Regions from separate parts of the Homo sapiens genome. Here all the other regions are linked to region 1. The links are contacts of gene promoters, found by promoter capture Hi-C in blood cells and fetal thymus (Javierre and others, 2016). All regions are on one chromosome and are shown on one strand. Each heading gives the region's core, a stretch centred on a gene start or on the middle of the fragment in contact. The rest is flanking DNA. Distances are from core to core; before and after follow the strand shown. Region 1 holds the start of SCGB1A1 (secretoglobin family 1A member 1). Region 2 has its middle 8.8 kb from the start of CHRM1-AS1. Region 3 holds the start of SLC3A2 (solute carrier family 3 member 2). Region 4 has its middle 5.0 kb from the start of SNHG1. Region 5 holds the start of TMEM179B (transmembrane protein 179B). Region 6 holds the start of ZBTB3 (zinc finger and BTB domain containing 3). Region 7 overlaps HNRNPUL2 (heterogeneous nuclear ribonucleoprotein U like 2).

Evidence for each region. Contacts are between HindIII fragments. The CHiCAGO score rates a contact against its expected background, and 5 or more counts as called.
Region 2: a fragment that was not itself captured here is called in contact with the fragment with the promoter of SCGB1A1 in region 1 in 2 of 17 cell types (naive B cells and naive CD8 T cells); the score reaches 6.0 in naive B cells.
Region 3: a fragment that was not itself captured here is called in contact with the fragment with the promoter of SCGB1A1 in region 1 in 5 of 17 cell types (total CD4 T cells, total B cells, naive B cells and 2 more); the score reaches 7.4 in total CD4 T cells.
Region 4: a contact is called between a fragment that was not itself captured here and the fragment with the promoter of SCGB1A1 in region 1, in 13 of 17 cell types (naive B cells, total B cells, naive CD8 T cells and 10 more). The highest score is 10.1, in naive B cells.
Region 5: the fragment with the promoter of TMEM179B here is called in contact with the fragment with the promoter of SCGB1A1 in region 1 in 17 of 17 cell types (total B cells, erythroblasts, total CD8 T cells and 14 more); the score reaches 24.2 in total B cells.
Region 6: the fragment with the promoter of ZBTB3 here is called in contact with the fragment with the promoter of SCGB1A1 in region 1 in 1 of 17 cell types (monocytes); the score reaches 6.0 in monocytes.
Region 7: a contact is called between a fragment that was not itself captured here and the fragment with the promoter of SCGB1A1 in region 1, in 1 of 17 cell types (monocytes). The highest score is 5.1, in monocytes.

The regions. Positions count from the first base shown.
Region 1 is chr11:62,417,557-62,420,492 of GRCh38, forward strand. SCGB1A1 (secretoglobin family 1A member 1) reads left to right here and starts at 1,477. Exons shown (of 3, transcript NM_003357.5): 1 at 1,477-1,594. The coding sequence starts at 1,540. All of the region lies in intron 1 of LOC102723765 (a long non-coding RNA gene), which reads right to left. RefSeq lists a silencer at 501-795. The HindIII fragment of the contact is 29,364 bases long and covers 1-2,426 here.
Region 2 is chr11:62,899,105-62,902,040 of GRCh38, forward strand. No RefSeq gene overlaps it. Among named protein-coding and RNA genes, the nearest start is that of CHRM1-AS1, 8.8 kb to the right of the region's middle. The HindIII fragment of the contact is 2,810 bases long and covers 142-2,936 here.
Region 3 is chr11:62,878,060-62,880,995 of GRCh38, forward strand. SLC3A2 (solute carrier family 3 member 2) reads left to right here and starts at 2,837. Exons shown (of 9, transcript NM_001013251.3): 1 at 2,837-2,936. RefSeq lists enhancers at 2,159-2,208, 2,578-2,936, 2,859-2,936. The HindIII fragment of the contact is 6,323 bases long and covers 1-2,936 here.
Region 4 is chr11:62,859,452-62,862,387 of GRCh38, forward strand. It overlaps a transcript of SLC3A2 not described here. Among named protein-coding and RNA genes, the nearest start is that of SNHG1, 5.0 kb to the left of the region's middle. RefSeq lists enhancers at 1-414, 1,583-2,487. The HindIII fragment of the contact is 5,884 bases long and covers 1-2,936 here.
Region 5 is chr11:62,785,907-62,788,842 of GRCh38, forward strand. It overlaps TMEM179B (transmembrane protein 179B), which reads left to right and starts at 1,496. Exons shown (of 5, transcript NM_199337.3): 1 at 1,496-1,621. The coding sequence starts at 1,526. It overlaps TAF6L (TATA-box binding protein associated factor 6 like), which reads left to right. Exons shown (of 11, transcript NM_006473.4): 10 at 354-482; 11 at 611-1,436. The coding sequence ends at 1,390. It also overlaps a transcript of TMEM223 not described here. RefSeq lists an enhancer at 567-766 and a silencer at 1,017-1,126. The HindIII fragment of the contact is 7,473 bases long and covers 1-2,936 here.
Region 6 is chr11:62,752,606-62,755,541 of GRCh38, forward strand. It overlaps ZBTB3 (zinc finger and BTB domain containing 3), which reads right to left and starts at 1,555. Exons shown (of 2, transcript NM_001370809.1): 1 at 1,359-1,555; 2 at 1-1,110. The coding sequence starts at 1,059. RefSeq lists enhancers at 208-1,085, 1,966-2,843. The HindIII fragment of the contact is 6,803 bases long and covers 1-2,936 here.
Region 7 is chr11:62,713,859-62,716,794 of GRCh38, forward strand. It overlaps HNRNPUL2 (heterogeneous nuclear ribonucleoprotein U like 2), which reads right to left. Exons shown (of 14, transcript NM_001079559.3): 12 at 2,006-2,079; 13 at 1,642-1,749; 14 at 1-1,521. The coding sequence ends at 1,441. HNRNPUL2-BSCL2 (HNRNPUL2-BSCL2 readthrough (NMD candidate)) reads right to left here. Exons shown (of 24, transcript NR_037946.1): 12 at 2,006-2,079; 13 at 1,642-1,749. Among named protein-coding and RNA genes, the nearest start is that of GNG3, 7.7 kb to the left of the region's middle. RefSeq lists an enhancer at 1,565-2,066. The HindIII fragment of the contact is 3,689 bases long and covers 1-2,936 here.

The DNA.
Region 1 (2,936 bases), core at 227-2,726:
CTGTCTGGCCTTTTATTTGTTTATTTATTTTTATTTATTTATTTATTTTTGAGGAGTTCTTGAAGTGCCACGCAATGCCTCTCCATGTCTATCTACCCCAGTTCCCGACTCCTAGCACCACATCTGGCACATCATAGGTGGTCAGCATTTATTGGATGAATGAATGGATCAATATTTGATTGAGTCTTGAAGTACGAATAGAATTTGGCGAAGTGGACAAGGCAGGAAATGTGTATTCAGGCATGAGGCTTAGCTTGTGCATAGGTAGAAAGGCATGAAAAAACATGGAACATTCTCGAATCCACAAATAGTAAGAGAGGGCTAAGTCGTTGTGTGGGGGAGAGGAGAAATGAAGTTCAAATGGTAGGCAAAGGTCAGTGGGCAAGGGCCTTGTAAATTGCACTTGAATTTTATTCTTTAGGCAAAAGGAAGAGTTTAAGGGTTTCAAGAAGAAGGACACGACCAGTGGGTTTTAGGAAGATCATTCTGATGGCCTTTCAGAGGATGGCTGAGGAGAGCTAGCAGGGAGGCAGGGAGGTCGAGTCAGGGGATTTTGACCAGGCCAGGTTAGGTGCTATGAGGCCCGGGCTTTGGAGAAGAACCAGGAAATGGCAACTGGAGGCAAGAAAGGGGAGAAGGCCAAAGCCTGGGAACCATCAACACTTAAGAACAGTAAAGAATAAACATCTAAAGAGAACAAGAAGGAATGGCCAGAAGAAGGAAAACAGGAAAGAACTGAGGCGTGGGAGCGCAAGAGAGAGAATGGTTCGAGAAGGAAGCAGTCACAGGTGTCAAGGCCATTGGGAGGTCAAGTGAGATAAGGACTGAAGGTCCCACCAATTGGGCCATCAGGAGCACAGGACTTGAGAGCACTTCTGGGTGGGAACAGACCCAGCCTGGGGCAGGGCTCAGGTTTCTGATGGGAATTCTGGAAGGGTCCCTTTTATTCAACATGCTTCAATCCAGGGGCCCCCGAAGTCTGACCACAGCAATGCTCCAAACCATGTGTCTTTCCTGGCTTAAGGTTCAGTCGCCCTCCTCAGAGGGGAGCCTATGAAAGAGCCCAGTGGAGTGTCAGGGTCCTGAGTCCTAGTCCTAGTCCTGTCCCTGCCACTTGTGAGGGAACTTGGGCCTCAGTTTCTCCAGGTGGGCTCCACAATTGCTTCTCTTGATCTGGACTGCCCCAGTGCCCAGGTTCAGTGAGTGACACAGGCAGCTGGGTTTCCACATCCTCTGACTTGGGTTCCCTTCACTGCCTCCAGGCAGGGCTCGGCCCTCCACCCCCAAGTGGCCCATTGTGTGAGCTCAGTTTCAGTGGGGACAGAAACTGGGTTGAGAAAAGGGAATATTTACCTATCCCACCAAGCCAATGCCAAGTAAATAGTGCAGTATCTTATGTAGAGCCCTTGCCCTGCCCTTCCCCATCTGGGTGCTGCTGCCTAGAGCATATAAAAGGCACCTTGCTGGGCATGTCTCATACTAGCCCACCAGACTCAGAGACGGAACCAGAGACGGGCCAGAGCATCCCCCTCCTCCACCATGAAACTCGCTGTCACCCTCACCCTGGTCACACTGGCTCTCTGCTGCAGCTCCGGTGAGTGCTCAGAGACCCTTCCCTCCCTCCTGGACTTAGGAACTCTCAGGACCCCCCAGTTCTGCTCAGAAGAAGGAGTGAGCTGCCCATTCCTGCTCTGGAGCTGCTGGGAGGACCTGGGCATGCTGAGTCTCAGAAAACTGGGTCTGGTGAGCAAGCTCATCTTGGAAACTTGGAGAGAGCCCCAGGCTGTAAGGAAGCCTAAAAAGGGTCCCATCTTCTATATCCAACAACCCTCAGAATCCCAGGGAATGGAATAGCCTGGAGGGAGGAGTGGAGAATACCCCATAAAGATGAGTACATCCAGCATAGGAATAATGAGGCCCTCATCCCAGATCTGGACAGACTCCAAGATGCTGAGACCTTGGTGCAGCCTCCAAGTCTGGGGTCTCCACTCCATGCTGGCAGCTGAAGTCACTGGAAGGGGAGCTGCAGGGACTCGTGACCCCAAAAGAAACCCAACCCAAGACAAGGTCTCTCATTCTGGGCACAGAGGAATATTCCAGAAAGAGAGCTTCCCTTTGGGGAACTGCCAACCCAGAGTGAAGTTTTCTAAACATTTCCGTCCTCTGCAAAAGGGATTAGGAGTCTCTGAGTAGTTGCTGCTGTCACTAAAAGGAAAAGAACTGTGGGGGGAAGAGGGGCAGAAAGAGAGACGGAGAGAGGGGGAGAAAGGAAGGAAAGAAGGATCACAGCTCTCTCCAAGATCCCCCGTCTTTGGGGAACTGGGTTATCTAACTCTGTTTTTCACTCTGCGTCAGCCTCTTCCATTCTCATCTGAAAATGCTGTTGTTATTTTTTAATAAACAAACTCCAATTAATTCACTTGGAAAGCTTCACAACACCCATGGAGATAAGTTTTATGACCCTGGGGAGTTAGAAAACCCAAACCAAGAAGCAGTAGGAACAACTATTTTGCAGAGAGGTTTATTTGTTTTTCAGAGAAAATGACATCATTTTGGACTGAAATGTGTATTAATTAGAAGATCTCAGTGCTGTCTGCGTACAGAGGTGGGTGGCTGAGCAAGATAGGACTGCAACATGTTAAGGGGTGGGTCAGAGATGCATTTGTCTATTTGTGTGCACATGCATACAATATTTAACACTTACTTCACACAATGTGCCAATCACTGTCACCCTTTCACATAATATCTCTTTTCATTCTTTTTTTTTTTTTTTTTTGAGACAGAGTCTCGCTCTGTTGCCAGGCTGGAGTGCAGTGGCGCGATCTCAGCTCACTGCAACCTCCGCCTCCCGGGTTCAAGCGATTCTCCTGCCTCAGCCTCCCAAGTAGGTGGGATTACAGGCACGCACCACTGCACCCAGCTAATTTTTGTATTTT
Region 2 (2,936 bases), core at 297-2,796, 480 kb after region 1:
AGCAGCAGAAATAAAAAGCAGATTCTTTTTTGCATCGTAAAACCATCTTTGCAAATGTTATTTCTAACAAGGGAGTCTCGTCAGACAGTTAACTTTATGAGACTTGCTTTGTCCTGCGAAAGTAACCTTTAACTTTTAAAAAGCTTGTGATTCTGATTGCTTGTCTTCCTTAATAGTGTGTTGCCCTGGCAATAATATTTAAATTCACATCTGTGTTTTCTAGAAGGTATAAATACCTGTGAGTTTTCTTTGTTAAGCCAGAGGGGGAGCATTGACACATTCCTCTTCTCCCACGCGCATGAAGTAGAATAAACCCAGTGACTGCAAGATTTCTTAATCAAACAAAGAATTTGAGAATATTGTCTCATTTAAATCAACATGGAGACCAGGGGTGGTGGCTCACGCCTATAATCCCAGCATTTTGGGAGGCTGAGGTAGGAGGATTGTTTGAGCCCAGGAGCTTGAGACGAGCTTGGGCAACACAGTGACACTCTTTGTCTCTACAAAATAAAAAAAATTAGCTGGGTGTGGTGGTGTGCTCCTGTAGTCCTATCTACTTGGGAGGCTGAGGTGGGAGGATCCCTTGAGCCCAGTAATGTGAGGTCGCAGTGAGCCACTCCAGCCTGGGTGACAGAGTGAGACCCCCCAGCTCTTTTCTCTCTCTCTCTTTTTTTTTTTTTTTTTTTGAGACGGAGTCTTGCTCTGTCACCCAGGCTGGAGTGCAATGGTGCCATCTCGGCTCACTGCACCCTCTGCCTCCTGGGTTCAAACAATTCTCCTGCCTCAGCCTCCCGAGTACCTGGGACTACAGCTGCCCGCCACCATGGCTGGCTAATTTTTGTATTTTTAGTAGAGACGGGTTTTCACCATGTTAGCCAGGCTGATCTTGAACTCCTGACCTCAGGTTATCCACGTGCCTTGGCCTCCCAAAGTGTTGCAGTTACAGGTGTGAGCCACCACACCCGGCCCCCCAACTCTTAAAAAAAAAATCATGCAGGCAGCAAGTCAGAGGTAGCGGCCATGAAGAGAGGTGGAAGTTGAGAACAAGCACTTTTGGGAATAAGGCAAGTGAGTTGACTAAGGACAAGCACAAAGATGTGAGGTGGAGCCATGAGGCTCCTGAGCAGAGGTCAGGAACCCTACATTTGTTCTGGTGCCAATCTGCCAGAGAGTGGGAGCTTTTTCCAGCAGTGCCTGACTGCCCATGTGTCGGGTCAGAGAAGATGGATGGTAGCATTGACCCAGGGTGGTGAATTTGTGGTAGAAGCAAGGGGTCGGGGGATCATGAGTATTGGTGGTGCTGAGGAAAGACTGCAGGGTCCAGGCTGCTCAGGGAAAGAAAGCACTTGCTGAGGATGGGCAAGGACAGGGCCTGGAGGAAGATGAGAGGCTGAGGGGGTGGGAGAGTGAGAGTGGAAGACATTGGGGTTTTAGCTCTTGAAGCGGGAGCAGTTGAGGGCTCTGGATTTGGCTGACACAGGGTAGAGGGTAAGGTCCTTGGGGCTGAAGACATCATGACACTGGCACTATTGAGTTGAATGGGTCACCCAGCCAGGATGGTGGCCAGATTTAAGAGGAGGAGGCTGGGCGCAGTGACTTATGCCTGTAATCCCAGGAGTGAGATTTTGGGAGGCCGAGGTGGGAGGATCACAAGGTCAGGAGTTTGAGACCAGCCTGGCCAATATGGTGAAACCCCGTCTCTACTAAAAATACAAAAATTAGCCAGGTGTGGTGGCGCGTGCCTGTAGTGCCAGCTACTTGGGAAGCTGAAGCAGGAGAATTGCTTGAACTTGGGAGCCGAGACTGCACCACTGCACTCCAGCATGGGCGACAAGAGCAAAACTCCGTCTAAAAAAAAAAAAAAGAGGAGGAAAGCATGGGCTTTGAGATCATTTGGGGGTGGAATCCTTGCTCTATCCCTGCTTGAACCTCTTAACCTCAGTTTCCTTCTCCGTGAGATAGGGCCAATAACATCCATCTTGAGGGAGTCTCAAGACTCAGAGTTTGTCTGTATGTTAGAGGGATAAGAATGCTAGGCCAGGTGCAGTGGCTTATGCCTGTAATCCCAGCACTTTGGGAGGCCAAGGCAGGTGGATCACAAGGTCACGAGATCGAGACCATCCTGGCTAACACGGTGAAACCCCGTCTCTACTAAAAATACCAAAAAATTAGCTGGGCGTGGTGGCGGGCACCTGTAGTCCCAGCTACTCGGGAGGCTGAGGCAGGAGAATGGCATGAACCCGGGAGGCGGAGCTTGCAGTGAGCCGAAATCATGCCACTGCACTGCACTCCAGCCTGGGTGACAGAGTGAGACTCTTTCTCAAAAAAAAAAAAAAAAAAAGAAGAATGCTAATAGAGTCAGAGAAGCAGATAGACTTCCTGTCTGGTTCTCAGGTGTCCAAGGCAGCAAAAATGTCATTTAGTAATCATTTATTGACCGGGCGCTGTGGCTCATGGCTATAATCCCGGCACTTCAGGAGGCCAAGGTGGGTGGATCACTTGAGATCAGGAGTTCGAGACCAGCCTTGCCAACATGGCAAAACCCTGTCTCTACTAAAAATACAAAAATTAGCTGGGCGTGGTGGTGCGCGCCTGTAATCCCAGCTACTCAGAAGGCTGAGGCTGGAGAATTGATTGCACCCAGGAGGTGTAGGTTGCAGTGAGCTGAAATGGCACTACTGCACTCCAACCTGGACGACAGAGTGAGACTTTGCCTCAAAAAAAAAAAAAAATTATTGCCTACTGTGTCACAGACAATATGCCAAGTGCTTACAGATGCTGAGAGGTCAGGGTCTGAAGTGTGCTGGCCAAGACTTGGTTGGGCAGAGGCAGAGAGGAATAAAGGGAAAGTGAAGACTGCAGGGATGGGGAAGGAAACCAGTGTTTTCTGAGTGTTTAACATATGACAGGCTTAGCATGATTTGTCCCCCTTTTAT
Region 3 (2,936 bases), core at 323-2,822, 460 kb after region 1:
CAGGAAGAAGAATCGCTTGAACCTGAGAGGCACAGGTTGCAGTGAGCTGAGATCGCGCCACTGCACTCCATGCTGGGTGACAGTGTGAGACCCTGTCTCAAAAAAAAAAAAACAAAAAACAAAAGGAATTGACTTCAGCCATTTGGAGCCATGAGGATCTGTGAGTGAGATACTGTGTCATGTTGGACCATCTCAAAGACAGCTTCTGACCCCACAGTTCTCAACCTTGTTCTTACTTATTTTTAGAGACAGGGTCTCGCTCTGTCTCCTAGGCTGGTATGCAGTGGTGCCACCATGGCTCACTGCAGCCTCACAAACTCCTGGACTCAAGTGATCCTCCTGCTTTTGCTTCCCTTGAGTGTTGGCATCTCATGGGACTCCAGGGGCACATCACCAATTACAGATGATAATTTTTTTTTTTTTTGAGACGGAGTCTTGCTCTGTATCCCAGGCTGGAGTGCAGTGGCGCGATTTTGGCTCACTGCAAGCTCCGCCTCCCAGGTTCACGTCATTCTCCTGCCTCAGCCTCCTAAGTAGCTGGGACTACAGGCACCCGCCACCACGCCTGGCTGATTTTTTTTTTTTTTTTTTGCATTTTTAGTAGAGACGGGGTTTCACTGTGTTAGCCAGGATGGTCTCGGTCTCCTGACCTCTTGATCCACCTGCCTCGGCCTCCCAAAGTGCTGGTATTACAGGTGTGAGACACCACGCCTGGCCTTTTTTTTTCTTTTTTGAGACAGAGTCTCACTCTGTCACCCAGGCTGGAGTGCAGCCGCGCAATCTTGGCTCACTGCAACCTCTGCCTCTCGGGTTCAAGCGATTCTCATGCCTCACCCCTCCAAGTCTGGGACTACAGGCGTGTGCTACTATGTCCAGTTAATTTTTGTATTTTTAGTAGAGATGGGGTTTCACCATGTTGGCCAGGCTGGTCACGAACTCCTGACCTCAAGTTATCCGCCACCCTCAGCCTCCCAAAGTGCTGGGATTACAGGTGTCAGCCACCACACCTGGCCTGTTAGTTTTTTTGAGGCAGAGTCTTGCTCTATCACCCAGACTGGAGTGCAGTGGCCCATTCTTGGCTCACTGCAACCTCTACCTCCTGGGTTCAAGCGATTCTCATGCCACAGCATGAGAAGTGGGATTACAGGGATTAGTAGGTGGGATTACAGGTGTGAGCCACCACACCCAGCCAGGCCCAGATAATTTTAAAATTTATTTTTTTATTTATTTAGAAATGGAGTCTCACTATGTTGCCCCGTCTGGTCTTAAACTCCTGGCCTCAAGGAATCCTCCCTCCTTGGCCTCCTAAAGGGCTAGGTGACAGGCATGAGTCACACTGCGCCCAGCCTTGAGCTTTTGTGCTCGAGATATAGTCCATTCAGAACCTCTGGTTGGCACTTCTTATCTGGCACATGCAGGGCACCTTGGATCTCTTATTATCTTTGAGCACTGGTCTGAACCCACTTGCTTGCCTTCTCCCAGGGGCTGCCCCGTGCACCCCTTGTTCCTAGGGTGGGGATGGGGTTGGATGCCTGGGGTTGCAGAGGGGACTAGCAGAGGGTGACCCTTTTCTCTATGCTATTACTTCAGATCTTGGCTTTTGCTTTCTTCCAAATACACAGCAATCTTGGCTTCCAGCCTAGGTGGGAAAGGGAGAAAGAACCGATTTCCTCCAGCTCCTCTCTGAAAGTAGCCCAACTGGCACTGTTTAGGAACAAGGAGTTCCTGAGAGTGTTGGCACCCCACGGTGTTGATGTCCGGTAGTTCCCTGCTGTGAACCCTGTCTCTGCCCCACTTCAATCCAAGGACCCTGTGGAGGGAATTCTAGGCTTCTTCAAAGCCTCTGCAGTACCAGCTGCCTCCAAGGCCTAACATAGTGAAGTGATAGGGAGACAGGACCTTGGGGGAGTTTGGGGATAACTGTGGGAGTTCCTGCAAGGTGGGTAAGAGTCTGGCCATGGCATCTTCTGGTCTATTCCACAAAAAAGGTGGATGCCTCTGAGACCTAGCTCTGTTATGTTCATTACAGCCCTATCAGTCTCTTCTGGATGTCTGATTCCTAGCTGCCAAACATCCAGGTGCTAGCAGCTGGGGGTGGGGTAGGATAAGAAGGGGGGTGTCTACCTCAACCTTCCTGCCCAAACCATTCATTTTAAAGTACTGTGAAGAAGGCTGGATTAGTGTTAAATTCAATAAAGTTAACAAAGCAAAGTATTGTAGTGAGTACACAATAAATAGTTGCTGCATGAGGAATTTCTTGAAATGAATTCAAGATGAGTCTTGAAAAACGAGTGGGAGTAAGCCGTGCACGGAAGCAGAGGTCTAGCAGAGGTCTAGCGCCAAGTCCCAGAGGCCTGAGAGGGCAAGCCTTGGTGGGGGAAAAGGCAGAAGTTGTGACTGGCTGCCTCTGAGAGTGCAAGTAGCCATGCAAAGTTGGGAAAACCAGACGGCGGCCGGAGCCGTGAACCAGGGGCAAATGGAGGATGGTGTTGGGGTAGTCACTAGCCTGCCGGAATGGAAGAAGAGGGGCGTTTGGGGGCGGTAAGGCCTAAAGGACACTGGAGGGGCCTCGGGATTTGGGGCAGGATCACAGGCCTAGTCCACTTAAAGGTGGCTCCGTGCCAGGCCTTCCCAGAATCAGGTTGAAAAGAACTTTAGGGTTAGACAGGTTGGAGATGAGAAATTGGACCATGCAGGAAGTACTGTCGGAGGCGTGTTCCTGACTTTACTACCCTGAGCCGCCCACGGCTGGGGCAGTCCCCGAGGTTCCACCTTAAGGGGCGGGCCGGGGCGGGGCTCCGCTGCCCCTTCCCAGAGGCCGCGCCTGCTGCTGAGCAGATGCAGTAGCCGAAACTGCGCGGAGGCACAGAGGCCGGGGAGAGCGTTCTGGGTCCGAGGGTCCAGGTAGGGGTTGAGCCACCATCTGACCGCAAGCT
Region 4 (2,936 bases), core at 132-2,631, 440 kb after region 1:
CTGATCTCTCTTGCTTTTCCCCACATTAGAGACCAGCATGGCCAACATGGTGAAAACCCTTCTCTACTAAAAATTCAAAAATAAGCCGGGCGTGGTGTGGGTGCGGTGGCAGGCGATTGTAATCCTAGCTACTTAGGAGGCTGAGGCAGGAGAAGTGGTTGAACCCGGGAGGTGGAAGTTGCAGTGAGCCAAGATCACCCCACTGCACTCCAGCCTGGGGGACAAGAGTGAGTCTCAAAAACAAACAAAAAACCAAAATATGCCCGTGGGCCAAAGGTGGCCTTTGATTGTGAGTTTGCAACCTCTTGTGAGTGACATAGAATCTACTAGAAAAGAGGGCATTTTAAAAAAAGTAGGCTGGGTGGAGCGGCTCACGCCTGTAATCCTGAAGGGGGCCAGCCCCTCCACACCTGTGGGTATTTCTCGTCAGGTGGGACGAGAGACTGAGAAAAGAAATAAGACACAGAGACAAAGTATAGAGGAAGAAAAGTGGACCCGGGGACTGGCGCTCAGCATACGGAGGACCCGCACCAGCACTGGTCTCTGAGTTCCCTCAGTATTTATTGATCACTATCTCTACCATCTCAGCCAGAGGGATGTGGCAGGACTATAGGGTAATGGTGGGGAGAGGGTCAGCAGGAAAACATGTGAGCAAAGGACTCTGTGTCATAAATAAGTTTAAGGAAAGGTGCTGTGCCTTGATGTGCACGTAGGCCACATTTATGATTGACTTTACACAAACATCTCAGCGCAGTAAAGAGCAGTATTGGCCGGGCGCGGTGGCTCACGCCTGTAATCCCAGCACTTTGGGAGGCTGAGGTGGGTGGATCACGAGGTCAGGAGTTCGAGACCATCCTGGTTAACATGGTGAAACCCCGTCTCTACTAAAAATACAAAAAAAAAATTAGCCGGGTGTGATGGCGTGCGCCTGTAGTCCCAGCTACTTGGGAGGCTGAGGCAGGAGAATGGTGTGAAACCTGGGCGACAAGGCGAGACTCTGTCTCAAAAAAAAAAAAAAAGCAGTATTGCCGCCAGCATGTCTAACCTCCAGCCATAAGGCGGTTTTCTCCTATCTCAGTAAATAGAATGTACAATCGGGTTTTATACAGAGATATTCCATTCCCAGGGACTAGCAGGAGACAGATGCCTTCCTCTTATCTCAACTGCAAAGAGGCCTTCCTCTTTCACTAATCCTTCTCAGCACAGACCCTTTATGGGTGTCTGGGGGACGGTCAGGTCTTTCCATTCCCATGAGGCCATATCTCAGGCTGTCTCAGTGGAGAGAAACCTTGGACGATACCCAGGCTTTCTTGGGCAGAGGTCCCTGCGGCCTTCCGCAGTGCACTGTGTCCCTGGGTACTCGAGACTGGAGAATGGCGATGACTTTTACCAAGCATACTGCCTGCAAACACATTTTTAACAAAGCACATCCTGCACAGCCCTAAATCCATTAAACCTTGAGTCAATACAGTGCATGTTTCTGCGAGCACAGGGTTGGGGCTAGGGTTACAGATTAACGGTGTTTCAAGGCAGAATAATTTTTCTTAGTACAGATCAAAATGGAGTTTCTTATGTCTTCCTTTTTCCACATAGACACAGTAACAGTGTGATCTCTCTTTCTTTCCCCCACATAATCCCAGCACTTTGGGAGGCCAAGGCAAGCAGACTACTTGAGCCCAGGAGTTTGAGACCAGCCTGGGCAACATATGGAGCCCGTCTCTACAAAAATAAAAATTAGCTGCGTGTGGTGGTGCATGTGTATAGTCCCAGTTCTGGGGGAGGCTGAGGTGGGGAGGATTGCTTGAGCCCAGGAGTTCAAGGCTGCAGTGAGCTTTAATTGTGCAACAAATAGAGGCCCTGTCTCAAAAAAAAAAGAGGGTTTCACTCTTGGTCACTGTAACCTCAAACTCCTGCACACAAGCAATCCTCTGGGCTGAGCTGGGACTACAGGCATGGGCCACCGTGCCCAGCTAATCTATTTTGCTTTTTGAATAGACAGAGGTCTTGCTGTGTTGCCCAGGCTGGTCTCAAACTCCTGGGCTCAAGTGATTCTCCAGCCTTGGCCTCCCAAAGCAATCCCTAGGTAACAGACTCAGTCTGGCTTCCTGGCTCTGGCTTCTTCCCTTCTAGTTCATTCTCCACACTGTAGTCAGAGTGATCTTTACGAATAAAAACTCTGGTCGGTCGGGCACAGTGGCTCATGCCTGTAATTCCAGCACGTTGGGAGGCCTAGGCGTGTGGATCACTTGAGGTTGGGAGTTCGAGACCAGCCTGACCAACATGGAGAAACCCCATCTCTACTAAAAATACAAAATCAGCCAGGCGTGGTGGCATATGCCTGTAATTCGAGCTACTCAGGAGGCTGAGGCAGGAGAGTCGCTTGAGAAAGGCGGAGGATGCGGTGAGCTGAGATCGTGCCACTGCACTCCAGCCTGGCCAACAAGAGCAAAACCTCTCTCAAAAAAAAAAAAAAAAAAAAAAAGTCTGGTCAGGTCCCACTTCAGCTCACAATCAGTTCAGTGCCTCTCCATTGTCTTTAAGCTATAGCCCAAATTGATCAATACAGCCATTAAGAAGTGCTGCTAGGCCAGGCGCGGTGGCTTACCTGTAATCCCAGCACTTTGGGAGGCCAAGGCAGGCGGATTACCTGAGGTCAGGAGTTCAAGACCAGCCTGGGCAACATGGTGAAATCCCGTCTCTACTAAAAATACAAAAATTAGCTGGACATGTTGGAGTGTGCCTGTAATCCCAGCTACTCGGGAGGCTGAGGCATAAGAATTGCTTGAACCTGGGAGGTGGAGGCAACGATGAGCTCATCGCAACGATGAGCTGAGATCACGCCATTGCACTCCAGCCTGGGCGACAGAGTGAGACTCTGTCTCAAAAAAAAAAAAAAAAAAAAAAAAGCCCTGCTTCTAACAGGGCCAATGGCTCAC
Region 5 (2,936 bases), core at 246-2,745, 370 kb after region 1:
CTGAGTCTCAGTTTACATCTAAGTGAAGCCAGTACTTGCCTGATTGTATAGGGTAGCAGTATGCAAACTAAATTTTGGAGTTGTCAGTAATGAGCATTATTTAGCACACAGGGCAGTGATATTGGGTATATTTTTTATTGTCTCCCTTTGTACCTTATCTTTATTCCCAATGCCTAGCTTAGGTATACAGTAGGTTCCAAATAAATATATGGTTGAATATGCCAATCAGGGAATTTAGGAGGATTGAGCCCTGTCTAGGATCAGAGATAAAGGTAGGTCTTTCATGGGAAAGGGTCCTTGAGAGGGAATAAGTATCAAAGACATGCTAACTGTATTCCTTCTCTTCCTTCCAGGCAGTAGAACGAGTCCTGTACCCACACCTGTCCACCTACTGGACAAACTTGCAGGCTGTGCTGGATGATTATTCAGTATCTAATGCCCAGGTCAAAGCAGATGGACACAAAGTCTATGGAGCCATTCTGGTGAGTACCGTCCCCTTCCAGCCTCCCTTCCCTGCATGAGCTTAGCAGCCAAGCAGGCTTACTTTGGAATATTTGATGGGCCCAGGTTCCTCGAATTTTTTGCCTATCTTAGTCCTTGGCTCTTACAGGTGGCGGTAGAGCGACTGCTGAAGATGAAGGCCCAGGCAGCAGAGCCCAACAGGGGTGGCCCAGGTGGCAGGGGGTGCCGGCGCCTGGACGACCTGCCATGGGACAGCCTTCTCTTTCAAGAGTCGTCCTCCGGGGGCGGTGCAGAACCCAGCTTTGGGTCCGGCCTCCCGCTGCCGCCAGGGGGCGCGGGGCCGGAGGACCCTTCTCTTTCGGTGACCCTGGCCGACATCTACCGGGAGCTCTACGCCTTCTTCGGTGACAGCTTGGCCACACGCTTTGGCACCGGCCAGCCTGCACCCACGGCTCCGCGGCCGCCCGGGGACAAGAAGGAGCCGGCGGCAGCCCCGGACTCGGTGCGGAAGATGCCGCAGCTGACGGCAAGCGCCATAGTCAGCCCGCACGGCGACGAGAGCCCCCGGGGCAGCGGCGGAGGCGGCCCCGCGTCGGCCTCTGGGCCCGCCGCCTCTGAGAGCAGGCCCTTGCCGCGCGTGCATCGGGCGCGCGGGGCACCCCGGCAGCAGGGCCCCGGGACCGGCACCCGCGACGTTTTCCAGAAGAGCCGTTTCGCCCCGCGCGGCGCCCCGCACTTTCGTTTCATCATAGCCGGGCGGCAGGCTGGGAGGCGCTGCCGCGGGCGCCTTTTCCAGACTGCCTTCCCCGCGCCGTACGGGCCTAGCCCGGCCTCGCGCTACGTGCAGAAACTGCCCATGATCGGCCGTACCAGCCGCCCCGCCCGCCGGTGGGCGCTCTCGGACTACTCGCTGTACTTGCCGCTCTGAGTCAGTGGCCCCTTCGTTCCTTGTAAATAAATCCCGCCCCCGGAAATGACGTCTCCACCTTCGTGGGTCGCGCCGGATAAGGTGGGCTTTGGGCGGGGTGCTGCTGCAGCGGCGCTTCCTGGTGGTCAGGGCGCCATGGCGCTGTCCTGGCTGCAGCGCGTCGAGCTTGCGCTCTTTGCTGCCGCCTTCCTGTGCGGGGCCGTGGCGGCCGCGGCGATGACTCGGACCCAGGTGCGGCTGCGGGGCGGGGTCAGGTAGGCGGGGGAGCTGGCCGGTCTGGACATGGCGAGGCCACTTTCGCTTTCCGACCGGGCTTGCTGCTGCTCGGAGCCGGTGGACCTGGTGAGGCACGGCTGGCGCCGGCCTGTACCTGAAATGCAGCGAGGCTAATCGCGCTTTGTGGCTCCTCCTGGCCAGGTCATACTTCGAAGTTGTCCCCTCGCCAAAGGGACGGGTCAGTAGCGTCTTAAAGCACTAGGTGGAGTCGGGTTTCGTGGCTCCTGCTGCACAGCCTTACTGTGGTTCCGAAACAGAAGTCAGTGCAGAACCTGCGTCCATCCGTTAAATCAGAAGCCATTTGTGCTGAGCTTTGTCGAGAAATAAAGCATAGTGTAGTGGAGATGATCAAGCTGCCACATGATTGTAGCACAGTGTGTTAAATGACAAAATGAGAGATGGAGAAAACGCTGACGTAAAGGTAGAAGCCAATAATTTACATCGTTTACCCCAGCCAGGTAATCTGGTTAATAAACATGGGTTCATTTAATGCCTATAAAGTAGGCACTAGTGTGCCTATTTTACACCATGAGAAAACCTCAGAGATCCGCCGGGCGCGGTGACTCACGCCTGTAATCCCAGCACTTTGGGAGGCTGAGGCAGGCGGATCACTTGAGGTCAGGAGTTCGAGACCAGCCTGGCCAACATGGCAAAACTCTGTCTCTACTAAAAATACAAAAATTAGCCGGGTGTGGTGGCTCATGCCTGTAATCCCAGCTACTTCGGAGGCTGAGGCAGGAGAATCGCTTGAACCTGGGAGGCGGAGGTTGCAGTGAGTCGAGATCGTGCCATTGCACTCCAGCCTGGGTGACGAGCGAATCTCCATCGCAAAAACAAAAACAAAAACACTGGCCGGGCCTGGTGGCTCACGCCTGTAATCCCAGCACTTTGGGAGGCCGTGGCAGGCGGATCACGAGGTCAGGAGATCAAGACCATCCTGGCCAACACGGTGAAACCCTGTCTCTACTAAAAATACAAACAATTAGCCAGGCATGGTGGCGGGTGCCTGTAGTCCCAGCTACTCAGGAGGCTGAGGCAGGAGAATGGCATGAACCCAGAAGGCAGAGCGTGCAGTGAGCCGAGATGGCGCCACTGCACTCCAGCAAAAAAAAAAAAAAAAAGCACCTCACAGATAGTTATTTGTTGAAGGATATACAAGGCCTGGGTTTACTCTAAGGTTTCTGCACAGAGACCATAACTTGTGAGGCTTCTCTGAAGCTCATTGCATTCTATATTCATTGCCTATTTTCTGATCCTTCTGGCCACTGCC
Region 6 (2,936 bases), core at 305-2,804, 340 kb after region 1:
TGCTGCCCCTGGGTCTTCAAAAGCCTCTGGCTGGGAGGGCTGTGCCCCATACACTGCTCCTCCAGATGGGAAAGCTCTCTCAGGACCCTGAGGCTGTTCATCTGACACATCAGTCTCTTCATCAGAGATCACAATAGCTTCAACTTTCACCTGGACCAGCTCAGCTTCAGCTGGGGCTGGAGCCTGGGATGGAACTGGAGCTGAGACAGGGGCTGGGGCTGACGTTGGGGCTGAGGCTGGGGGATAGAAGCCTTGCAGTGGTCCTCCAGGATCCTTTGGTTCCACCACCCTCAGACTCTCAGGACCCACATCAAGAGATGGCAGTGGCTCCAATGAAACTGCTGAGATGCCAGAAGAGAAGTAGTTTGTAGGAATGGTCTCAGTGGAGCTACTAGGGCTGGCAAGAGAGACATCAGCCACTGGTGGATGAGGTGCCCGCAGATGTGGTGCGTCAACCTCCATGCCAGGCTGTGTAGTGTCAGCCCCACTAGACATTGGTGGCTCATCTGGAGGACGGACAGTAGGTGAGGGAGCAGCAGAGCCTTTCCATTCCCCTTTGCCCCAGTGGCCTGATGTCTCAGCAGATGCCAACGAAGGTTGGGTGCCACGGGAAGTACTAGACAAAAACTCCAAACTAGGAAGCTGTGAGTTGGTTTCCTCCTCCTTCTTGGTACTGTCTGCCTCTGCCAGGGCCCGGGCTTGAAGCCGCCGCTTACACACCTTGACGATGTCATTCATGTGCAAGTAGCTGGCAGCTGCCAGCACATCCTCCACAGGGGTATCCCCTCTCAGGGTCAGCTGGCCAGCATACATAAAGTCCAGAAGCAGCCCAAAGGCTGGGGCTGTGACAATTTCATTGTGAATACACACCAGATCCCTCTTGTCCAATTCCCGCTCCTTGTAGAAAAGCTGGAAGAATGGGCTGCAGGAGGCCAGCACAGCCCGATGGGCCAAGAACTGGGTACTACCCACCATCACGGTGCAGTCACAAAGGAAACCCTGGGACCGCTGCTCCCGGAGGCTCTGCAGCAGCTGCTGACTGTGTTCTGGGAACTCCATAGTACCCCACGAAGGAAAGGGGGCCCAAAAAAGGTCCCCACCAGTGGCTCCCTGAGAAAAAAGGGCAGTGAGTTAAGACAGGTAACCTCCCCAGCAACCTTATCAGCCCTTAACTATCACTTGCCACTCCAAAACAATCGCTTAAGTTACTGCCCTTCTTTCTCCTAGGTCACACCCAAAGCTCTCCCATTAGCTCCGCCCACCTCGGCCTAACCTTAGAACAGGCCCCACCCCCGTCCGATAAGCCCTGCCCCCGGAAGTCCCGCCCCTTAGCCACCCTCCGCTTCCTTGATGCCCACCCGGTAGCGTCCAACGGCTCCACGAAGTAGAGATCTTTTTCGCTCCCAGGCCTTGCCAGGCGATGCCTCTACGCCCCACTTCGAGAACTCCCTAAGCATCTCCCTCACGCATTCCAGGGGCTAAGGACTACCAGGGTGGGAACTAGCGGAGAAAGCTGATACCTCACCCACCACCGAGCAGCCACAGGGCGAGCTCCGCCCCTTCCCACCTTCTCAGCTTTAATTGGCTTAAGATTGCCCTCCCCTGTCACGGATTGGTCCGCTCTCCACTAACCATCCTCCCTCTAACTGCCGTCTACAATTGGGTGCTCGCCGCCATCGCTTTTGCAGTCAGGCGTTGGATTGGGTGACGCTCCTGTCCTCAACTTTTCCTCTTCGTCCCGCCTTCCTTGCCTCCGAGCCCTCAGGATTGGCTGAGCTTCTCCTTCTACCTAATCCAGCAGGCAGGAGGTACCCGGCTCCGAGTCGCTGAACGCGGCGCTCTCCTGGCGAGGCTGGAGGTCGGGAACCCTGCAGTGTCGGACCCGAGCTGACAGCAAGCCACTCCCGCTACAGGCTGACAGGGAAAAAGAGAACCAACTAGGCCAGGCGCAGTGCTTCACGCCTGTAATCCCAGGACTCTGGGAGGCCGAGGAGGGCGGATCACTTGGGGTCAGGAGTTCGATACCAGCCTGGCCAACATGCTGAAACCCCGTCTCTACTAAAAATACAAAAATTAGCAGGTCTTGGGGGCGCGCGCCTGTAATCCCAGCTACTGGGGAGGCTGAAGCAGGAGAATCACTTGAACCCGGGAGGCGGAGGTTGCAGTGAGTCAAGATCGTGCCACTGCACTCCAGCCTGGGCGACAGAGTAAGACCCTATCCCCCCACCCCCCCAAAAAAAGAGAACCAACTGGTGACTGTGGGCAATAGCCCCACGTCCCTGAACTGCGTTTGTCTCTTGAAGGTCCCTTCCTCTCAAAAATTCTAAGATTTGCCGGGTTCGGTGGCTCACGCCTTTAATCCCAGCAGTTTGGGAGGCTGAGACGGGCAGATCACTTGAGGTCCGGAGTTCAAGAGCAGCCTGGCCAACATAGTGAAACCCCATCTCTACTAAAAATACAAAAATCAGCTGGGCATGGTGGCGCGTGCCTGAAATCCCAGCTTCTAGGGAGGCTGAGGCAGGAGAATCTCTTGAACCCAGGAGGCAGAGGTTGCAGTGAGCCAAGATAGCGCCACTGCACTCCAGCCTGGGAGACAGAGCAAAACTCCATCTAAAACAAACAAACAAAAAAACATTTTAAGATGCCCTACTGCTCCACTCCTCCAAGCTAAGTTTCCGGGGCTCCCGGCTCAGTGATGGCATGAAAGAACTAGCAGCTACAGGGATGATGTCGTGGTGTCCCTAGCCTGGACTCTACAGTCAATTTACAGTGAGAGGATAGAGTGTTCTTTGTTTCCAGAGCGTGCTGAGCAGGTGCTGGTAGGAAGGGTAAGAATGGGGTCAGGATCATAAAATGTCCCAGGACAGGAGAGAAGAAGCAAAAACCGTGTCTACTGAAGAAATCTTTGAGAGTCTCTACACACCCAGAGGAAAAGG
Region 7 (2,936 bases), core at 122-2,621, 300 kb after region 1:
GACATTGAAAGAGCATTCCATATCCCACCCATATTCTTGAACCCAGCAACCTACAGCTGTCTATCAAGAACTGGGAGGGTATTGGTAAAGTCACAAATGAAACTATCCCAACTGAAGGCTCCTGGCTAGAGGCCTCTCTGGGGACACACAGGGAAAGCGCCCCAAAAGGAATTTTGTTTCTAGAAGTCGGGAAGGGGTGCTCCCTTTCACACGCACATTTACACACGTTCACACTCACACTCTTCCCAAGGTTCAGCAGCCCCACTGAGCTGCCTCCCACCCCCCCCCACCACCCTCCCCTCTTCTATTCATTCTCTACCTGTGTATCAAAAAAACCAGCAGGGCACGAGCCCTCCACACTGTAGAAAATAGTTGCTAGTTGCTATTCTCAGCACCTGGGCCTGTGAGCCCACACCACAGGATTCACCTATATACATATCCCGCTGCAGTGAAAAGAATCCTGCTGTGTTTTCGTGTGAGCTGAAACCCTGAGAAACGTTCCTTCTCTCGCACTGTAAGAGGACAGACACTCTAACAGGGATGATTTCAGAGACCTCCCACCTCTCTCAACCTTGGAAGACAGAGACTAGAGACTGGCAAATCACAATCTTTAGGCTGAGGGCTGCAATCCCATTCTCCCCAAGATTTTACAGGAATTAATCAATGGGTCTATAGAAGGGGCAGGCTATTCTGCTCTGCCATCAAGGACAGTCCCCAGGCTTTCTTGGCCTGGGAATCCTGTAAAATAGAACCACCCACTGGCAGTCTCCATGCCTCAGCCAAACAGCACAAAGGCACAGGAAAATGGAGAGTTGGGACACTGTAAGCCTCCCAGCCCACCAGACCACATATCCCAAAAGGGAAAGGTCGGTAAAGAAAATACAAACGGTTAGTTGGTGCAAGTGATTGATAAGAGCCAATCGTTTATTTTCACTGTCCCAGTCACAAGCTCTCCCTCTGTCCCCACTCCTGCCTGCTCCTACCTGCTGTGGAGAGCACCCTCGCGCTGCCTCCCCACCCTCCCCACACCACCTCATCACTCTCCTTTACTTGGCTGCCAGTCCAGCTGCCTCAGAATGTCAGAAGGGTGCCATTTTCAGTTCTTTTCCTGTCTGACTGTAGGGTATAGAACAGGCAGCCCTAAGTGCTGCTTTCTGCGCAAATGTTTTTTGATTACAAATCTCTAACTAGGTTTGAAATGTTTTATAGAATAAGACAATATTCTTTTCAACAAACTTTAAAAAAAATGTACAGTTTTGTTGTTTGTTTCCACCTCCCCCCTCCCCCACCCCTGCTTGAGCACCCTCCCCCCCCACCACCCCTCCCCGGCAGCTCAGCCCCACCCCGACAGCCCCTGTTTTCCTTGGTTGTGTTTTGCGGGGGTGCCTGGCACCCCCAGAGATTCAGCTTCATGGCTGACAGGTGACCATGGCAGGGGCTTCACCGATACCCTTGGTACCCGTAGTAATTCCTGTAGTATCGGTCTCTGTCCTGGGGGTGGTGGTAGTAGTAACTCTGCCACTAGAAGAGAGGGAAACCCCATCACTTGGAGCCAGAGCTGGCTGAGGATGAAGAGGCATAACACTCATCCTTCTGCTCCTGCCCCCCTTCACCCTGTGTCTATCCCAAGAAGATACTCACATCCCGATTGTATTGTCTGTAATAGTCTCTGTATCTGTTGTACTCATAATCTCGCCCGTAAAATCGATCATAGTCTCCCCTGTATCGATCATAGAAATTACGGTAACCCTGAGAAAGGAAAAGAAAAAGGAGTGAAGGTTTATGGGTTTTTGGCAGCATGACCCACCGTGACCCCCTTTTAAATGCGACACATCTTAGCTCGATATTATAAATTGGTTTAATTTTCCCATAGTAAATCTTCCAGAACATATTAAATGGGCAAAACCCTAAGCCCTAAGAAAACAGGCAAACCACTCTGCTCCCCCAAGCCAACAGAATGGCTCTCACAGCCCAGAGTGAGGAGCAGAAGGAGAGCTGCACTCACCCCTCTGTTTCCAGGCTGCCCCCAGTACTGCTGCCCGTAGGCCCGGTTGTCGTAGCCTCGGCGCTGCCCGCCCACTGGAAGAGAAATGGAGAGCGCGCTCAGACAGCTGGCATGGGGTCCTGGCTCCACATCTGGGTGGAAATCAAAAACTTGGAGCCAAAGGCAATTCTGGGGGAATATGAGGCCTGCTTCGGCCAGGCTCACACATGTTAATTAAAGCACCAGCCAGGAACTTTTAAAAAGTCTGAGGGGGGAGGGCAGAGGAACAGAGACACAAGAAAACCAAGCCACTTTGTTTTTGAAGCTCCCCAATTCCTGCAAAACATTTAAGATGGCAAAAGGATACATGGCAGAGTTAGAAACATAAGGAAAAACTGCCATTCATAGAATCAGACTTTCAGCCCTGGAAGGGATTTCAGATATCGTATAACCCATACCTATCATTTTATGCAAAAGAAACAAAGTCTCTGTAATCAGCTCCTCAAGGGCGGGAACTGTCAGCATTTACAGTACCTAGCACATAGCAGGCACTCGGAAATTCTGCTGACTTAACAGTTACACACACACATACACACACATTTTTAAAGAGCAGTGAATGCACACTGGGGTTTTAACTGACAAACTAGACATTCAGGGGGAAAATTAATTCTACTAATAGCCTAACTTGCTTGGTTAAGTTCTTCCCCCCACAAAAAACACTGAATAAAGCATTCGCTTTCTTGTTAATCGAAATGACACAGAAGCAAGAAAACTGAAGATGAGAATTTGATTTCACTGCACAAATCCTTCAGATAAGACAGGAACAGTGACACTGGGAACCCATATGTTAAAATGAAAACTAGATAGATGAGAAAGCCCAAGCATTGCTTTTCAAAGAAACAAATACTTTTGTGAAAAGTAACTCTTTTTTAAAAAAGAGGATTTTTGTTGT